Linked DNA regions of Homo sapiens: region 1 is linked to region 2. The links are contacts of gene promoters, found by promoter capture Hi-C in human tissues and cell types (Jung and others, 2019). All regions are on one chromosome and are shown on one strand. The core of a region is centred on a gene start or on the middle of the fragment in contact, and the rest is flanking DNA. Distances in the headings are between cores, read along the strand shown.

Region 1 (4,112 bases), core at 1,446-3,945, 270 kb before region 2:
GTTCCTAGCACTTTGGGAGACTGAGGAGGGTAGATCACCTGAGGCCAGGAGTTTGAGACCAGCCTGGCCAACATGGCGAAACCCCGTCTTCACTAAAAATACAAAAACTAGCTGGGTGTGGTGGCGGGCGCCTGTAATCCCAGCTACTTGGGAGGCTGAGGCAGGAAAATTGCTTGAACCCGGGAGGTGGAGGCTGCAGTGAGCTGAGATCTTGCCATTGCACCCCAACCTGGGCAACAAGAGTGAAACTCCGTCTCAAAAAAAGAAAAGTAATAACAATAGTAATAAATAAAAAGAATAAAAAAACTAGAGAAGGATGGCAATGCCGTACTAACATGGAGAACCAGGAAGAAGAATGAGTCTGCAGGGAGAAGGTGCTGGGCCCAGGGTGGGCTGTGGGAGACCAGCAGAGAGGTCTAGATTGTTATGTGACCTTACTGAGCCTAGCTCAGCCCCCAAGAAGGAGCTTGGGAGAGCCAATTTCAGCAACTGTTCTGCCCATGGAATAACCACTCTCTCTTCTCTCTCTCCATCACTTTCAGGGAAATGGCAGCAAACGAACCTCTCAAAACCCACAGAGAATAAGGGAAGGCAGCAGAGGGTCTCCAAGGGCATCACTGGGTCTGCTGGCTTCTACACTGGGTTCTGCTACTCCCCAGACCTCAGGGACAACTGCCGGGGGTTCAGGGTTGGTAGCAGGGAGTACCCAGTGCCTACAGGGCTGGGCCTCTTCTGCCTCTTAAGCCTGCTCCCTCACCCAGGCACTGGGCAAGTGAAGAGTTTGCCTGTACTCTTATCTGGGTGCCTTAAGGAGAGAGATTGTGTTCTTCCTCTCTCAGGGGTGATAACTCAGGAAGCCTCTGGGTTGGGAAGACCATCAGTTCTTTTGTCTTAGGTTTCTTTTCCTGTCCCTCTTCCATCCCCAAGATGTGACCCCATAAAAATTTTTCCTGAGTTGGCCAGGCATGGTGGCTCACGCCTGTAATCCCAACACTTTGGGAGGCTGAGGCAGGCAGATCACGAGGTCAGGAGTTCGAGACCAGCCTGACCAACATGGTGAAAACCCCATCTCTACTAAAAATACAAAAATTAGCCGGGTGTGGTGGCACACACCAGTAATCCCAGCTACTCAGGAGGCTGAAGCAGGAGATTTGCTTGAACCTGGGAGGCAGAGGTTGCAGTGAGCCAAGATTGCGCCGTTGTACTCCAGCCTGGGCAACAGAGCAAGACCCATCTCAAAAAAAAAATTTTTTTCCTGAGAGGAAGCCTGAGGTTGACCAGCTCTGGGGTTTGTAAGGCAGGTCTGTTTTCTCCTAGGCCCTGAGTTTTCTGAATCTCTGGTTTTGCTTTGTTGGCAAGGAGCCAGGGAATCCTGACCTGAGCCAGACCTTAAGCTCTATGGTTATTTAGCTGGCCATTCAGGTATAAGGCAGGGTGGTGTACCTGCTGGCACTATCCAGATGGAGGCACCAAACACCCACATACCTGGCCCAACCAGACTTCTCCCGTGAGCCAGGCAAAGGAAATTGTCATCTGCCAACTGTCCTACTCATATTCCTCTCAGTCCTTCTTGGGGGTAAGCTGATTACCTGAAGGACAGCTGAACCCCTGGGGTAGCCTCCTATCCACCACTGCTTAAGTGCCTATGGGAATGTGGGTCTGCACCTTGTCCCCTCATAGGATGGTACCAAGCATTTAGTGCACAGTGGCCCCATCATAGCCTGCAGCCTCATCATTTCCCATCTGGACCTGGTACAAATGCACGTCACAGGCTCAGCTCCTCCCCACTAGCATTTTCTCTACCTTCAAGAACCAGGCAGCCCTGCCATGTCACAATAGGCCAGGGGAGTTTCCAAAGATGTGGGTGGCAAATGCCCCTATAGAAACACCAGTACCTGAAAGCACTGTAGCCCTGGACCTGCCTCCTTCCCTCGGGGCCATACTTCTGTTTCCATCTGCTGGGCCACCAGCCACTTTAGTGACCCCTGCCTACTTCCTTCCTGTTGGATATCATACTTCCATCTGGCTGCCTTTGCTTAAGCCATCTTTGTGGTAGAGGGGCCCTGGAATTGCAGCTGTACTGAGGATGATGTTATTCACAGCCCCTGGCCCACCCACTAATACTACTGCACAGAGTCAGGATCTCACATTTCACCCCAGGCTCAACTGAGGATGTGGCTTATTAAACACGGAAGTGCATCGGTTGTTGTGGTTATTCAGACAGAACAAGGGTGTGCATGCACAGGGGCAGTGAGAGAGGGAACATCCTGGAAGCTGTTGCCCCTTGGGACCCAGATGCAATAACTTGCAGGGAGGGGAGAGGTGATGCAGCTCCCTGGAGGAGCAGGGATGGGGTGCCCAACAGGGGCAATATCTCCATTTTTATAGACTGGCCCCTTTCAAGGAGAACCTATTCCAAGCTTGTCTTGGAGGCCAGGAAGGCAGGCATTGGGTTGGCATTTCAGGAACCCTGTGAACAGAGAACAATGAAGCTAGAGACTGGCAAGTAAGAAGGAAGTTTAATTTTTTTTTCAGGATTCAGTGGAGTCCATTAATGCATACCAGGGGCAAAGATCAGCCCAGGGTAAGGCAAGTCTGGGAGGAAGCCCACCCTGCCCTACAGCAGCCCTGGAACTCAGAATAGGTGGTGAGTCTGCCATGGTTTGCTACTGGGCAGCACACTAGACCAACTTGGGAATGTGGAAGAGTGAGTCTATGTTCCCTCAGCCATCCCCAAGTTTACACACAGGCATAGCAGCCCTACTGTGAGTCAGCAATCATTCCTGACTTGCAGTAAGGACAATTTGCATTTACGGAAAGCAAACTGGAGGGGGTAGCCTAAGTCCGCACTGCCCATGTTATTACCCTTTGCAATGTGAAAAACCATGGTGAGGTAGGTTGGGCAGGTTTTATCCTCTCCACAAAGGTGAGCCTTTGCTCCACAGCCAGCACCTGGCAGAGTGGGAGAGATGGCAGAACCAAAGCTTCTCATTACCCTCCAGCAGGCAAGAGTAGGTCAGTGGGATCATGGACTGAAACAAGACATTGTGTGAGCTGGTCCGTCACTCAGAAGCAGGGTCCTGAAGGAAGCTGGAATGGCATGAGTTAGGTGGGGGGAATAGGTGGTGTGGCCCCTCAACCAGACAATTAGAATCAGCCTCCACCTTAACTGCCCACCCCCAGTGAGTTCTGCCTCAGCTTCTTGACTAACCCCTTGTAGGGGCAAAACTCCTGGAAGGGACAGCCCCACCCTGAGCCAGCTTCACTTGAGGGTATAGTAGTTTGTGGGCACAAAGGGCATCTTGCTGACTACAGCCATCTGCTGCTTCCGCCGCACCTCTACCAGCAGCATTGTCCCTGGACGACTGTACTCGCAGGGCACATAACCCATCGCCACATTCTTCTTCAGAGAGGGGGAGGGGCAGCCACTAGTCACAGTACCTGTCAAGCAAGCATAAGCCACGCATCAGCACCACCCTGCCAGTGCCCCCACCCTCCTGGGAAGAGACAAGGGTTTCCCAGCTTCCCTGGTCCACCTACCAATCTTGGTACCCTCCATGTTCAGGATGGGACTGTGTGCCCGCATGGGGGCCCCCTCACACATCAACCCCACACGCCTCCGCTGCACCCTGCCCTTCAGCTGGGGAACAATGACCTTGGCTCCAGGGAAGTCCATAGCAGCTCGGCGGCGCTTCCCTGGAGAATGACACATGAGACATAAGCCACAGCCCATAGAAGCCCTGGCCACAGGAGGTCCTTATGAGGTCCTCAAGTAACACACTATCTAGCATCAAGGCCCCTTTGCTTGGGCTACTCCAGGCTCTATTCCTCCCTTCACTGCCGTCAGCCAACCAACCACCTCCTATCCCCTGGAGGCCATGCTGCCCACCTGCCGAGCGTCTTCAGTTTCTTTTTTTTTTTTTTGAGATGGAGTCACTCTGTCGCCCAGGCCTAGAATGCAGTGGCACGATCTCAGCTCACTGCAAACTCTGCCTCCCAGGTTCAAGCAATTTACCTGCCTCAGTCTCCCGAGTAGCTGGGATAACAGGCACCCGCCACCACGCCTGGCTAATTTTTATATTTTCAGTAGAGACGGGGTCTCACCATGTTGG
Region 2 (5,478 bases), core at 663-3,162:
TCTGGAAGAGGTCACAGCGCCCAGAACGCCGCAGCCTCGTGTGGGGCGAGTGTTGAGTCCATGGCAGCAGTTGGCAACCATGGCTGCTCACGTTGTAGTGGAAGGCCCTGGAGAGAAGAAGGCACAGGGTAACGCCACAGCCCAGGCTTCCCTGCCCCCAGTCTTATCTAGGCCCAGTGGCCACTCACCGGCAGTCCATTAAGGGCCCACAGCGACCAGCACACTCTTCAGCATCTGCCACATCCTCCTGCCAAGGCCCGGGCACCACCGCATGTAGCAGGTGCTGTAGCTCTGTGCCCCGGAGCACTTGGAAGTCATTCAATGGCGAGCGCTGCCCTGCAGAGTAGGCATGAGTGGGTGCAGGTCAGGTGGGCATACATGTCAGTAATGTGTATTGGCATGTCCACACTTTGTTCATTCAGGGGATCAAAGCTACAAGGCTTCTGGGATGGACCCTGTATGCACTTTCAAGGGCCAGTCTAGCCCCCTGCACAGATACTTGTGAAAAAAATTTCCCCTGGGAAGCAGGCCCAGACTTGGTAGTTATCACCGGTGCCTCTGTTTAGTGGCCCAGGCACCGGGCTCAGATCTAACACATACGCTCTGTGAGAGCAGTGGGTGATGAAGCTTGCCCCACCTCATCTCTCAAATGAGAATGCTAAGGCTCAGAGCCATCACATTACCCAGCCAGGGGCCCTGGCTAGGCATTCAGACTCCAAATCTGGGCTCTCACCTGCACAAAGGCATATGCTAGGTTAGAGGGGTAGATCAGGCTCAGGAGGGGTCACTGCCTGCTGTGTGCGTGCATCTGTGTGGTCCTGACACTGCTTCAGTGCTAGAGCAGACGTGCTAATAGAGGCCTAAGTGGGCAATGTCTATGTGTTCCTAGGGCTTCCCAGCTGTGCTCAAGAGGGCAAGGTCACTGCCCCATGCCCACTGAGCCTCTGGCTCCCCGACTTTTTTCTCATCCTAGAATAGGAGAATGGGGCCAACCCCCTCCTGAAGGCAGATGGGGATCAGGGTTGGGGGCACTTACCAGGGACCCCTAAGCATTGAGTCAGAAGCAGCAGGAGTGGGAGCCACCCCATCCTTCTGGCTGGAGGCTGCACTGTGACCCACCACAGCCCCATCCGGGAAGTTGTGAAACCTGTCCCTACGGGATTGGGTGGCTCTGGCTCCACACGTCAGCTCAGGGCCTGCTGGACCCTGACCTGAGACCTGGTGACAGGAGCCATGAGGGGCCAGGCCTCAGGTCCCATAGGTCAGTTGCAAGGGCCTAGTACAGCTTAGTGGACAGGTGTTAGGAAGGTTTGGTGGGGACACTTGAGGTGCCCTGGGGTTGGGGTGAAACCCCTCTGCAGCCTAGTCAGCCCAAGGGCATTGTGAAAGTGAGAGCTGCCAGAGGTCTGGGCTCCAGCCCCTGGGTGACATTAAACTTTTCTGAATTTCGGTTTTTCCCTGTAAATTGGGGAAAATTACTTGCCCCAGCTTCAACACTGCCTCCCCTCCACCCTTTTGCTGCTGCCTTATCAGGCCCCAGCTGTAGGCAGGTCAGCCCACACCCGGCGGCAGAGCCCAGAGAGGCTCGCTCATCTCAGCCGCCAGAAGTGTCATCCCAGGGAAGGTGAGCGAGGCTGTCCACTAGGACTAAATAGGGGTGGAGGTAACAGGTAGCAGGGACTCTGGCAGGAACGGCCTTTCAGACGTTTTAAGGACCGTCTGAGCGGGGCCTCTAAGTATGGGTAGGAGACAGGCGGCCTAGGGATTCCGGTTAGCATGTCGCGTTCTGCCGCAGCAGGGCTGGGAGCATCCCCAGAGCAGGCGGAGGTCGGAGGTGGTGAGGCCTTTCGGCGAAGCTGAGGCCTGGAACAACCCGGTGGGAAGCCATGGAGGGGGTCCCCTAGCGGAGGCTGGGCGCGGGCCAGTGCGCGTGCGCGGCTGGAGGCTCAGCGCGCAAGCGTGCGCGTGATTTGGCCCTGAACGGACGCCGTAGCCAAGAGGTTGGGCGGATGTTGTGAGCCGGGTCGCTGCGGCCGAGGCTCCGGGTGAGTGAGGGGCGGCAGGGCTCTGAGCCTGGCGGGTTCCGGCTATTCCCTTCGCGGTCCGGGCTAGTCCAGTGCGAGGGCACCTGCAGCGCAGGGATCTGGGTGCGAAACTCCGAGCGGAAGCTGGTCTGGCAGGTCCTGTGGAGCTTGGGGCCAGGCGGGGGCGACTTGGGGGAGCCATGCGCCGCCCTCGCCGTCCTTGGGCTCCCAGACGGAGTAGGTTCAGTTCTGAGTCCGGATACCCCGGCGGGGTTGGACGGGATAGCCGTGACAGGGAGTCCCCGGGCGGGGACAAGGTCCGCCTCTCACCTGGGTCCTCAGCAACTGACTCCCGGAGCCCACTCCGGGTGTCTGGAAGGTCTGCTCATCAAATGAATGACTGAGTTTAATCAGATCTTCAACTACTCTGGTAGTGAAGGGGCACCGATCATGGACGCCCACCGAGGGCCCGAGGTCGGGAAAATCACCTTCCCGAGGAGCAGGCGTGGTGCAGACCCACAAGGGTTTGTGGCGGGAGTAGAGGGTCTGTTTGGGGTGAGATAAGAGACTGAACTGCAGAGTAGGGAGTGCTGGCTAAGGCAGTGCTGCAGAGCGAAACTCTAGACCTGCGCTGTCTAATAGAACTTTATATGATGGTGGGAACGTTCTACCTTTGTGCTGTCCAACAGAGTAACCATTAGCCACATGTGGTCATTGAACTCTTGAAATGTGGCTAAGGCAACTGAGAAATCGAATTGTTAATTTTTAAAACTTTAAATTTAAGTAACCTCATGTGGATGACGGCTGCTGTGTTGGACAGCACCGCTACACATCAGTGAGGCCAGCACCAGGGACTCAGTGCAGGTTCTGGAGCAGCTGCAGCAGCAACATGATGTGAGGGATAGATGCACTAGGAGGACCAATGGAGTTTGCCATGAGGGCTGGGCAAGGGTGGTGCTTGGATGAGGTGGGAGGCCACATGTGTGAGTGGGAATGGTGAAACTATCAGGACCATGGATAAAAGAAGGGAGGAACCCAGGGCTGAGGAAAGAGGCTCCAGCCTTGTGGGGAGTAAGTGGGACTTATGGCTAGAGATGACCAGACCAGTGGTGGTCTGCACTTGGGGGAATGTGTAGGATTGTCGCTTCTGGTTGTGAGCTGGACTCAGTATGGCTTACAACTGAGATGGATACAGGGGCTCTGCCCCTAGGACACCTCACTTTGGACATTTTGGTCTGATTTCCACAGAGCTGAGACATTTTGTTATGGTTCGGCAAAAATATATCTAGTACCTGCTCTCTGCCCAGCCCTGTGCTGGGCACAGGGACACTGGAGAACAAGAAGTGGTCCCTGTTACATGGGCCTAGACCCTGGCTACCCTCCCTGTGTAGGAAGCTGGGAGCCCCTGCATTCCCCTGCCCTATGTGTTAGTGTGCATGCCCCTGGCCTCACCTGCTCCCAAGCCTTCCTGCCATGGCAGGACTGAGGTCAGGTGTGGGGGCCCCTGGCTGGCCCTGAGTAGACAGGCTCTGTGTCTGGCTCAGCCCCCAGGACCACTGGCTGCCCATGAGAGATGAAGGATGGCATCCAAGGGGGCCGGCATGTCTTTCTCCCGCAAGAGCTATAGGCTGACCTCAGATGCTGAGAAATCCAGGGTCACAGGTAAGAGCTGGCAGGGAAGGAAGGAGGCTCCTCTTGTTGGGAGGAGAAGGAAGGGACAAAGGCCTCAGGCCTTGCTGCACCTGTGGCTGGCCTAGGACCAGAAGTCTCTGGGGCCAGCAGGGGCCAGGAGCTGCACTGATCATGTGGCCCTTTTCTCCCTTCTGACTTGTGGCTCAGGCATTGTGCAGGAGAAGCTGCTGAATGACTACCTGAACCGCATCTTTTCCTCTTCTGAACATGCACCCCCAGCAGCCACCAGCAGGTATGGCTGGGTGGGTGGCCCCTCCTCACTCTGCTGGGCCAGACCAGAATAAGGAGGCTGCAGTTGTAGGGAAAGGGAGCCTGGGCTCTGGACAGATAGGCTTAGGCTCTGTTCTCACTGTGCTCCTGGCTGCGAGATCTCTGGCCAGAGAGTCTGCCTTCCGTACTCTGCTTCTTCCTGTCTCCAGGCAGTGCTAGTTCCTTCTGAGAGTCAGGGAGCAGAGGTCAGGGAGCGGGTGCACATTCATGCCCAGCTAGCACCTGGCACCTACTCCATACCCAGCATCTGCCCCTGCATGTACCTGCCCTCACCTTGGCCCCAGCCTGGCCCCTTGTAGCTTCTGACTGACCTTGTAAAGAACAAACTCCTCCAGGGCCTTTTCTTTACAAGTTTAATACTTTTAAGTGTAGTCAGTATAAAAGTTACAAGTACATTTTAGCAGAAACTTAGAGGGCCAGGCACAGTGGTTCACACCTGTAATCCCAGCACTTTGGGAGGCCAAGGTGGGTAGATTGCTTGAGTCCAGGAGTTCAAGACCAGCCTGAGCAACATGGCAAGACCCCATCTCTACAATAAAATACAGAAATTACCTGGGCATGGTGGTGTGCACCTGTAGTCCCAGCTGTTAGGGAGGCTGATGTGGGAGGATCACTTGAGCCTAGGAGGTTGAGGCTGCAGTGAGTTGGCCTCTGCATGCCACTGCACTGTAGCCTGGGTGACAGAGCAAGACCCTGTCTCTAAAAAAAGAAGGAAAAGCACCTGCTATCTTGTTATTTTAACATGACTATTCAAATGTGATTCTTTTCTGTTTCTTTCTTTGTGTTACATTTTTAATTTTTAATTTTTGTGGGTATGTAGTAGGTATATATATTTATAGGGTACATGAGATACTTTGATACAGGCATGCAATGCGTAATAATCACATCATGGTAAATGGGGTATCCATCCCCTCAAGCATTTATCTTTTGTCTTATAAACAATCTAGTTATACTCTTTTAGTTATTTTTAAATGTACAATTATTATTTACTATAGTCACTCTGTTCTGCTACCAGATAGGTCTCATTAATTCAATTTTTTTGTACGCATTAGCCATCCCCATCTCCCCACAAGCCCTATACTACCCTTCCAAGCCTCTGGTAACCATCCAGTACTTTGCCTCTATGAGTTCAATTGTTTTAATTTTTAGCTGTCACAAATAAGTGATAACATGCAATGTTTGTCTTTTTCTGCCTGGCTTATTTCATTTAACATAATGACCTCCAGTTCCATCCATGTTGTTGCATATTACAGGATCTCATTCTTTTTTATGGCCGAATAGTACTCCGTTGTGTATATGTACCATGTTTTCTTTATTTATTCATCTGTTGATGGACACTTAGATTGCTTCCAAATCTTGGCTATTGTGAACAGTGCTGCAACAAACATGGGAATGCAGATATCTCTTTGATATACTGATTTCCCTTCTTTCAGGTATATACCCAGCAGTGGGGTTGCTGGATCATATGGTAGCTCAATTTTTAGTTTAGTTT

The links. Contacts are between HindIII fragments. The study calls those that stand out against the background at their distance.
Region 1: a contact is called between a fragment that was not itself captured here and the fragment with the promoter of MST1 in region 2, in 1 of the 25 tissues and cell types used here (dorsolateral prefrontal cortex).

What each region holds. Positions count from the first base shown.
Region 1 is chr3:49,414,278-49,418,389 of GRCh38, forward strand. TCTA (T cell leukemia translocation altered) reads left to right here. Exons shown (of 3, transcript NM_022171.3): 3 at 543-2,199. The coding sequence ends at 585. AMT (aminomethyltransferase) reads right to left here. Exons shown (of 9, transcript NM_000481.4): 8 at 3,541-3,696; 9 at 2,501-3,441. The coding sequence ends at 3,263. Among named protein-coding and RNA genes, the nearest start is that of TCTA, 3.9 kb to the left of the region's middle. RefSeq lists enhancers at 1,745-1,954, 3,381-4,099. The HindIII fragment of the contact is 4,017 bases long and covers 688-4,112 here.
Region 2 is chr3:49,687,562-49,693,039 of GRCh38, forward strand. It overlaps MST1 (macrophage stimulating 1), which reads right to left and starts at 1,913. Exons shown (of 18, transcript NM_020998.4): 1 at 1,037-1,913; 2 at 189-336; 3 at 1-107. The coding sequence starts at 1,130. RNF123 (ring finger protein 123) reads left to right here and starts at 1,996. Exons shown (of 39, transcript NM_022064.5): 1 at 1,996-2,045; 2 at 3,569-3,686; 3 at 3,864-3,948. The coding sequence starts at 3,605. RefSeq lists an enhancer at 1,267-1,826. The HindIII fragment of the contact is 11,098 bases long and covers 1-5,478 here.